Regions from separate parts of the Homo sapiens genome. Here region 1 is linked to region 2. The links are contacts of gene promoters, found by promoter capture Hi-C in human tissues and cell types (Jung and others, 2019). All regions are on one chromosome and are shown on one strand. Each heading gives the region's core, a stretch centred on a gene start or on the middle of the fragment in contact. The rest is flanking DNA. Distances are from core to core; before and after follow the strand shown. Region 1 has its middle 32 kb from the start of SLN. Region 2 holds the start of ALKBH8 (alkB homolog 8, tRNA methyltransferase).

Region 1 (4,656 bases), core at 1,455-3,954, 180 kb after region 2:
TGCAGCTTCATCCTCTGCGTTGGGCATTGGTTGTGCTGGGGGAGCTGGAGTGCTCTCAGGCTGTGAGGAAAGCACTCTGCCTGGGCAGTGGAGGCCGTGCTGTGTACCTGCTCTTGTAGGAGTGGCCAGGCAGGGGCCTTGGGAGGGGCTGGTGGATAGAGGAGCATGCAGAACAGACATGCCCCAGTCCCACAGGAAAGATGGCCCCACTCTCTCCTGGCCCAGCAGCCAGCCAAGGTTAGAGCTACTCAGAGGAAGACAGAGAATCCTGTGGGATGGGTGCCTGTGGCCACATTTTGCTGCAGCTTCTCCATGTGCAAAACCTTCTAGGCTCTGCACAGCCTGGAGCACTGTTTCTGCCTACTCTCCAGGCAGATTCCCTTGACAATTCAAACATCTGTAGGAGTCATGGGACCTCTTGTAGCTAATATCTGAGAGGTCTGTGGTGAGAGTGGGTTACCCCGCCATCACTTCACTCACCCCTTCCTTAGGAGCTGTTCAGGGCCGGGAACCAGTCCCAGTGCTCTGCAAACCTGTGCAGGGTTCCCAGCTTCCTCCCTCTTCAGTCTCAGTGTCTGCCTTACCTCTCTATTACTCTGTGTTTTCTCTCCAAAGATCTGTCCTAAGGATGTTGGTTTATTCAATATTTTGGTCTCTCTCATTGGGAGATGCTCCTTGACTGTATCTATTGGCCATCTTGTCACCTCCATCCACTTTTTTTTTTTAAGCTGGAGTTTCACTCTTGTCGCCCAGGCTGGAGTGCAGTGGCACAATCTCCAGTCACCACAACCTCCGCCTCCTGGGTTCAAGCGATTCTTCAGCCTCAGCCTCCCAAGTAGCTGAGATTACAGGTGCCTGCCACCACACCTGGCTAATTTTTGTATTTTTAGTACACACAGGGTTTCACCGTGTTGGCCAGGCTGGTCTCAAACTCCTGACCTCAGGTGATCCACCTGCCTTGGCCTCCCAAAATGCTGGGATTACAGGCATGAGCCACGGTGCCCAACCCATCCAATATTTTTAAATGATAAAATATATTCTCAATTCCCCTTCTATCCTCTTTCTCTCTTTAAAGTTATAAATCTTATGTTCGTCCCTGCAGCCACTCACCTGGAGAAGAAGGCTTGTTTAAAATGCCAAATTGGCCAGTAGCAGTGGCTCACGCCTGTAATTCCAGCACTTTGGGAGGCTGAGGTGGGTGGATCACTTGAAGCCAGGAGTTTGAGACCAGCCTGGCCAACATGGTGAAACCCCATCTCTACTAAAAATACAAAAATTAGCCAGGCATGGTGGCAGGTGCCTGTAATCCCAGCTACTAGAAAGGCTGAGGCATGAGAATTGCTTGATCTTGGGAGGTGGAGGTTACAGTGAGCCAAGATCATGCCACTGCACTACAGCCTCTGCAACAGAGTGAAACCCTGTCTCAAAAATAAAATAAAATGCCAAGTTGACTTAGATAAGTAAGCAGAACACAGGAAAGAAGTTCATTTCCATTCTATCATTCCATAGGAATCAGCCAAAAACTTGCTGAAAGTGGAAATTCAGTTTTGCCATAAAAGGACCCCTTTAATGATTTATCTTTCACCTCTATGTAACTCTGTATTTCTTTCTACTGATTTCTCCATAAAAGCTCTGCATAATGGTGTGGGTTGATTTATGAGACTCCCTTCAGCCTTTATTCCATTTTTACTTTTTCTTACTTTGTTATTTCCCCTGGTGGATGCCAGTGTTAGTATTTGACCCATACAAGGGGTGTTCAGCCAAAGACAGTCCTCAGTCAGACTGTGGCCTGAGACAGATGGTGAGGCCAGTTGGTGCTTTGGGGCAGTCAGATTACATTTCCAAGGCGTTCTCGTGTGACAGCTGTGTGCCTTTGATCAAAACATTGAGAAACAAACCCTCACGTCTCCCTTAGCACAAAAACAGCCAGGACCCTGTTTTCCTGGATCAAAGAGAGGCATGTCAGATACTCTATAGGACTTCATATGCATTAAATACCACATTCTCAGAAGAGCTGCAGAGGCCCAGGATGACAGGGGTCACTACAGAAAGAGGACCTCTGCAGGAGGTGAGGAGGGGCTCCACCAGGGCGGACTCTCTTTGTATCTGTTGTACCCTCAGCACCTACAACAGTACCTGGAGCAATGTAGAAGCTCAATAAATATTTTTTGAATTAATTATTAAATAAGTGAGCTGCTTCTATCTGGCAAGTCCCTTACTTTACTCAGATTGACACATCATTCCTGCTCATTTTTGAAAATCCAGCTCATCTCTTTCTCAGAGTGCTTTCTTTGACCTGTCTAAACACTTCTCTATATATAAAGCTGTACTTTCAAATGGATTTCTGTTGCTTGTTCTTATAATACAGTATTGCAGTTACTTGATTGCATGTCCCTCCTCCCTTCAAGACCTTTAATTCCTTCATAGCTAAGGACAATTCTTATTCATCTCTGTACTCATGCTGCCTAGCATAGTTCCTGTATATTTACTCCTTCATCCAACGGGATTTGAGCACCCTGCTTTATTCCCAGCACTGAAACAGGCTCTGGGGATACAGCAGCGAACAAGAAATGAGCCCTCTCTATTCCCCAAGCTTAAATTTTATAAGGATTGCAGACAATTAATACGAGTAAGTGCAATGGTGGAGGTTATGAGGACACCATGGAAGCACATAGGAAGGACACCACTGCATAAAATTTGATGATCATTAAAAGCCTCCTAGAGGATGCTTCCCAGGAAAAAAACAAAGAATATCTGAAGGATAAATAGAATTGAGCCAGTAAAGTGGGGGAGTGTTCCAAGAATAGAAGAAAGGAAGACAGAAGGGAGAAACAGATGAAAGGAAAGCAGGGAAGAATGGGAGAAGTGAAGAAGAGAGGAAGGCAGGGATATTGCATTTTCTTATTTGCCTTGTAATATTTCTTCCAGTAGGTGGCCTTACCAAGAGCCCCATAACTGCTAGAGGCCACCTGCTACCCCATCTTACTTGGAGGTTCTGTTTTTACCCCTAGTCACAGAATCACAGGCTATTGTAGAGCTGAAAGGGGCTGTTAATACCTAGTCCCATCCCTCTTATTCTACACATATGAACGATGAAGCCCACAGAGGTTAGTAATAACAGTATTTTGCTTTTATCTGTTATCTTGCAAAGCATTTTTACCCCTATCCAGCGTGCATCCAACAGCCCTGTGAAGCAGCGTTATTCTTTTCTACATATCAGGAAACTGGGGTTTAAATGGAATTAGTGGTAGAGCTGGAAGCCAGGTCTCTACCAAGGGCACACCATGAGGAGCGGAGCCAGCAGGAGATGACTCCTCATCCAAACTCCTTCCAGAAGGCAAGAAGAGCTCTCTGACACCTGATGGGGACTGGCCATGCTAATTATTCACAGCATGTCCCAATTAAAAGAACACTTGTGCTGAATGCCTTATTTGCCAATAGCCTGGAGATCACTAGAATGACTGGAGTTGACTGGTCTTGCCTTCATTTGGTGTCAGATGGTAGGTCAGTCTTTTTACAAATAAAAAGAGTGTTCATTTTGGACTATTTAAAAATGTGAAATGTCTGTAAAAGCAGGACTCTATAAACCAAGTTAAGAGATAAGCCATACAATAACAAATGTTGGCAAGGATGAGGAGAAAAGGGAATTCTCATACACTCTTGGTGGGAATGTAAAATGAGCACAACCACTATGAAAAACAGTTTGGAGGTTCCTCAAAAAACTAAAAATAGAGCTACCATATAATCCAGCAATCCCACTCCTAGGTTTATACCCAAAAGACAGGAAATCAGTATATCAGAGAGATATCTGCACTCCCATATTTATTGCAGCACTGTTCACAGTAGCCAAGATTTCGAAGCAACCTAAGTGTCCATCAACAGATGAGTAGATAAAGAAAATGTGGTACTATATATAATGGAGTACTATTCAGCTACAAAAAAGGATGAGATCCTGTCATATCCAACAACTGAGATGGAACTGGAGGTCATTATGTTAAGTGAAGTAAGTCAGGCACAGAATGATAAACATCACCTCTTCTCACTTATCTGTGGGAGCTAAAAATTAAAACAATTGAATTCATGGAAATAGAGAGTAGAAAGATGGTTACCACAGCCTGGGAAGGGTAGTGGTGAAGTGGGAGTGGGTATGGGGGTGGGGAATGGTTAACGGCTACAAAAAAAAGTAGTTAGAATAAATTAGAGGCTGGGTGCAGTGGCTCACGCCTGTAATCCCAGCACTTTGGGAGGCCAAGGCAGGTGGATCACTTGAGGTCAGGAGTTTGAGACTAGCCTGGCCAACATGGTGAAACACCGTCTATACTAAAAATATAAAAATTAGCTGGGAGTGGTGGTGCACACCTGTAATCCCAGCTACTCGGGAGACTGAAGCAAGAGAATCGCTTGAACCCAAGAGGCAGAGGTTGCAGTGAGTCAAGATTGTACCACTGCACCCCAGCCTGGGTGACAGAGTGAGATCCTTCTAAAAAAAAAAAAAAAGAAAAGAAAAGAAAAATAGATAAGACCTAGTATTTGCTAGTACAACGGGATGACTATAGTAAAAATATATATAGATATATGAATTTTTAAAATAACTAAAAGAGTATGTCAGAATGTTTGAAACACAAAGGATAAATGCTTGAGGTGATGGATACCCCT
Region 2 (4,926 bases), core at 2,361-4,860:
CTGTCTCTACTAAAAGTACAAAAAATTAGCCACGTGTGGTGGTGGGCACCTGTAGTCCCAACTACTTGGGAGGCTGAGGCACGAGAATCGCTTGAACCCGGGAGGCAGAGGTTGCAGTGAGCCAAGATCATGCTACTACACTCCAGCCTGGCAACAGAGTGAAATTCCATCTCAAAAAAAAAAAAAAAGTATGTAAACTGGAAAAGTTGGGAAGGCCTCAAAACAGGAGATTTGTGCCATGTACTGAAGGATAAGAACACTATAGAATCAAATAAAAAGGAAAGTATTCAGTGAGGCAGTAAAGAGCAGAAGCTAAAACCAAAATGGACATGTTTGGCCAAGACACCAAGACACAGGCATAATTTTTTTAGACCGGTCCCACTCTCTGCGGACTTTAAAGTCTTCAAAGTCAACCAAATATACAAATTTGGGGGTTAAATAAAATCTTATTTATCTTATTTCACATGAAATCATAAACAGTCAAAATTCTAATTACTAATCTTTAGTATAGAAGACAAATGCCAAGTCTCTTAAAATGCCAGCAGTCCAGCTTCCTAGCACAGGGGGTACATACTAGGATGTAAGGCCAGTGAGGCAGGCAGGCTGGCTGGCAGCATAGCAGAGAGATGAGAGGTAAAAAAAATAATAATAATAATCCAGCTTGTTAATTAGAAATGCTGGCCTGATCTAGGCTGGGGGCAACAGAAAGAAGCGAAATAGGGGGAGAGGAGAAAGAGGAAGGGTGAGTGAAAAGTTCAGGCGGAATCAAGAGGCCTCGATGACTACCCAGATATGAGGGAGACAGGAATCAAAGATTACTTGTTAACCAGTTAGAGGCTGAGTGACTAAGAGATGAGTGCTACCACTTCAAAACTGGAAAGTCAGGAGGAGGTTCAGGAAGAGCTGCTCAGTATAGGAGGTAATGAGTCATATTTAGGATAGAATAATGTTTAAGGTATTGTGAGATACAGAGTTGCAATGTCTGGCTGGCAAGTGACAAAATAAAGTGGCTCCTAGGAAAGGAACTGAGGTTAAAAAGGTTTAGGAGTCAGTCGTCATTAAGACAGGAAGGGGATAAGTGAATGGACATGTCTAACATTGCATTAATTATAATTATTTGTTTTAGTATCTGTCCCCTTCCACTGAACTGTGAGCTTTCTGAAGGCGGGATTAAATCACACTTTTCTTAGTTACCACAGAGCCTCATTCAGTGCTATGAGGTAATATAATACAGTGTTTAGGAGTCCATGTTCCAGGTTCAAATCTCAGCTCAACCACTGATTATTAGCTGTATAATCCTAGATGAGTTGGTTATATAGCTCTGTGTTCCAGTTTCTTTATCTAGGAATAGGGATAAAAATAATAGTGCCTATCCCATAGCTTTCTTAGAATTAAATTTATTTATTATTATTTATTTATTACTGTTGATTTTCAGAAGCAGCAGATCAAAATGGCTTAACAAAACAAAGAATATCTGAGGCCCTTCAAAGGAGCTATTTTAGAGCCATTCCATTTCAAGATCTTCATCTGTGGAACAGCAACTTTGCAGTATGTCATGGAGAACAAGGGATGACTGCACTACAGAATTTTTAATATTTCACATGAGCAAACACTGCAAAGAAGGAATGAGAAAGAAACGATGCTAAATATATCTTTTTAAAATGTCTGCCACTAAGAGTCCAGCACCAGCAGGTGGAGCCTCATAACCACATTTTTGTCATCCCTTTCCTTTTTCTCTCCCTCAGTCATGCAATATTATTGCACGTGAAGAAAGACACTAAATGGCCTTTGAGGCTCAGTTTTCCACCATTCCAGTGGCTAGGCAATGTGCTGGCCCAACATATCTGAGTCATCTCAACAAGGATAGGCTGATACCAGCTGCTGAGGTCTGGAGGTGCCCCCTTCTGACAAAGCCACTTCCCTGGCCAGAGTTTCCACTAATGCACAGATACTTGGATGCTCCCTGTGACATTACTGGAGTGAAGTCACTATTAACTATGATACTAGCCATGCTGAGTCCGGTTCAGCCAGCTCCAGCCTAAGCGTACTCTCTGTGGGATAATGAAAGTTTGGAGATTATGCATGCTCTGCTACTTGCTTGTTAGTGAGTTTAAAGCCAATATATCCTACTAGATATTGCCCTACGTGGTAATAGTAGTATGTACATCATGCCCTCCTTGAATAATAGAGAGCCTATTATGAAACAAGCAGTATAGACAAATGTTCCTATACTTATATGTTTAAAAAAATGCAAAAACCATGATTACTTTTGCACAACCTAATAATTAATAGCAAAGATTAGAAAGAATCTAACTTCCTATCAAACGAGGCCCAATTTTAACGTACGGCACTGGTATACAGAGTTTACATATAAATCTTTAGGACACACAAGAAATTGGTGATATGGGTTGCCTCCAGGGAAGGAAAATGGATCGATGAGTAAAGGAATGAAAGGGAGCTTTCTTCTTTCATGACTTTTGAAGTTAGTAGCTATTTAAACTGCATCATCTATTTAAAAAGAAAATAAAGATTTAAAATTTTTAGAAAAAAATTCACCCCATCACTTGTCACGGCACCCCGTTTTAACTCTTTGAATAACACTTACTACATATTTTCTTACACTCTCATTAATTTGTTTATTCTGTCTTTCCCCATAACTGAATAAAGAACACTCACTCCATGAAGTAGAGATTTTGTCTCTATTGTTCACCCTGTAGCACCCAGCACTTAAACAGGATTTAGCACCTAGCAGCCACTCAATAACCATTTGTCGAATAAACCTAAATCGACTTTGCTGTCTTACCTCCTAAACCTCCCCTCCTCCAGAATTCTGAGTTTGGTGGCCTTCTTCAACGTTTTCATTAACACCTAGCATGGACCTCTATCTCTAGAGTTCTCACATGGTATTATAATTGCCTGTTTGTGTTGGGCTTCGGCCAGAAAACTGTCATCTATTTAAGGGCACAGACTTGGTGCCTGACATACAACTGACAATAAATATTCAATGAAATCTATCAAAATAACAGGCTGACGCTACCAGAGGTCCAGGAGTCGCAGGGATTGCTCAAATAAGAGCACAGGAAGACTCAGCTGCGCAAGGGATCAGATCATCAGCACTGCCTTTGCATCGATGCAATCAGACCGATTGTCACCGGTCAGAAAAGCCCCAGAAGCGCCACACTAACACGCCCCATGTTGCAACCGTCCTCTCCAACCCCAAAGAAAACAGAAGATTGACACAGGCACCACGTGAGCGCCCGAACCAAACACAAACACATGCACCCTAAACACTGAGAGAACCACCCAACGCAGACACCCTACTGCCCACACTGCACCAAGGGCGCCTCTGGGATCCATCCCCTTTCCCTAGGTTCTCAGCCCTAGCTGGCAAGGCGGATAGAGAAGACCGGAAGAGGCTGAAAAGAGGAAGCGGTGATTTGCTGCCCGTATGCCCGCCAGTAAGAAGTGCCACACACCTCCGCTTCGGCTCAGGCCGGATTCTCACCATGCGTGTGCCTTCTTCTTTGCCAGCCTCTCCACTCTAGCACCAGAACACCGCAGCGGATACTTGCACGCCATCTCCCCTGGGCGCGGCCATGTTGGAGAAAACTGCACTACATTTCCCATGAGCCCGCGGGACAACGAACAGCGCTCCCACAGTCCTCTTCGCCTCCCAGAGCCCGGGAGTGACCCTTTTTCGACCAAGTGTCTTTGTAAAGTGCTGTCTGTTACACTGAAAATTCAGTTGTCTTTTTGGGGGGAGTAGTAATAATTGGTAGTGCAGCTATATTTTTATCTGTTGCTCTCCAAATGGACAAGGTCAAACAGGTTTGGGCCCTTTGGTCTTTCAGCAATGTCCCCTGGCACCTTCTATTCTTCGTGCATATTTCCTCCTGAATCTTATTAGAGGTGAGAAAGGAAAATAAATCTTGGTGCCACAAAATCACTAAGCTAAAGGGAAAAGTCAAGCTAGGAACTGCTTGGGCAAACCTGCCTCCCATTCTATTCAAAGTCATCCCTCTGAGTCATCCCTCTGCTCACTGAGATAAATGCATATCTGATTGCCTCCTTTGGAAAGGCTCATCAGAAACTCAAAAGAATGCAACCATTTGTCTCTCAGCTGTAATACGTGCGACCTGGAAGCCCCCTCCTCACTTTGAGTTGGCCCGCCTCTGCTTCAATTTGTCCCTCCTTTCTGGACGGAACCAATGTTCATCTTACATATATTGATTGATGCCTCATGTCTCCCTAAAATGTATAAAACCAAGCTGTGCCCCGACCACCCTGGACACATATCATCAGGACCTCCTGAGGCTGTGTCACGGGCGGGCGTCCTTAACTTTGGCAAAATAAATTTCCTAAATTGTCTGAGACCTGTCTCAGATATTCAGGGTTCACAGAGATATGGGAGAGGATCCTGGGGTCTGAAAGATGGCATTGCATGGGCGGGAGGGAAGGAAGTGAATATGCATGAATGTGCCAGGGGAATGGTGAGTACCACAGAGTAATAGAAAGATGTGTGGAAGAATGGTGAAGGAAGCAAGACAGAATTCTGTAGGCCTGCAGAGTGGGAGTTGCAGGGAGGAAGGTTAGAGAAATGAAATGATATGACCAGAGCTTCTTGTGGCAAGTGGGAGGAGAGACTAGAAGATGACTGATGAAGTGAAAAGTAACGAAATATTAACAAGCCCAGTAGTGGCAGAGGGAAAGAAAAAAGAGCTGGTAACAGATCATAAGTAAAAGACAAAGGAGAGGGTGATGATTAGCAGTTGTTCCTGCTCTGTTATTTGTTATATAAATGTACCATAATCCTTCTACCTGCATTGGTTTATGAGCTATGTGAGTGCAGGGAGGGAAAGGTGTAGGGGAAGAGGAATCACCTTCCCATGTTGTTGATACAATGGCCCCTATCTGCAGTGCACCACA

Evidence for each region. The method cuts DNA at HindIII sites, captures the fragments that hold promoters and counts their contacts. A contact is called where the count stands out against the background at its distance.
Region 1: a contact is called between a fragment that was not itself captured here and the fragment with the promoter of ALKBH8 in region 2, in 1 of the 25 tissues and cell types used here (spleen).

The regions. Positions count from the first base shown.
Region 1 is chr11:107,741,566-107,746,221 of GRCh38, forward strand. No RefSeq gene overlaps it. Among named protein-coding and RNA genes, the nearest start is that of SLN, 32 kb to the left of the region's middle. RefSeq lists enhancers at 1-61, 62-562. The HindIII fragment of the contact is 4,332 bases long and covers 539-4,656 here.
Region 2 is chr11:107,562,125-107,567,050 of GRCh38, forward strand. It overlaps ALKBH8 (alkB homolog 8, tRNA methyltransferase), which reads right to left and starts at 3,611. Exons shown (of 12, transcript NM_138775.3): 1 at 3,477-3,611. RefSeq lists enhancers at 2,962-3,480, 3,284-3,773, 3,481-3,997, 3,844-3,903. The HindIII fragment of the contact is 10,640 bases long and covers 1-4,926 here.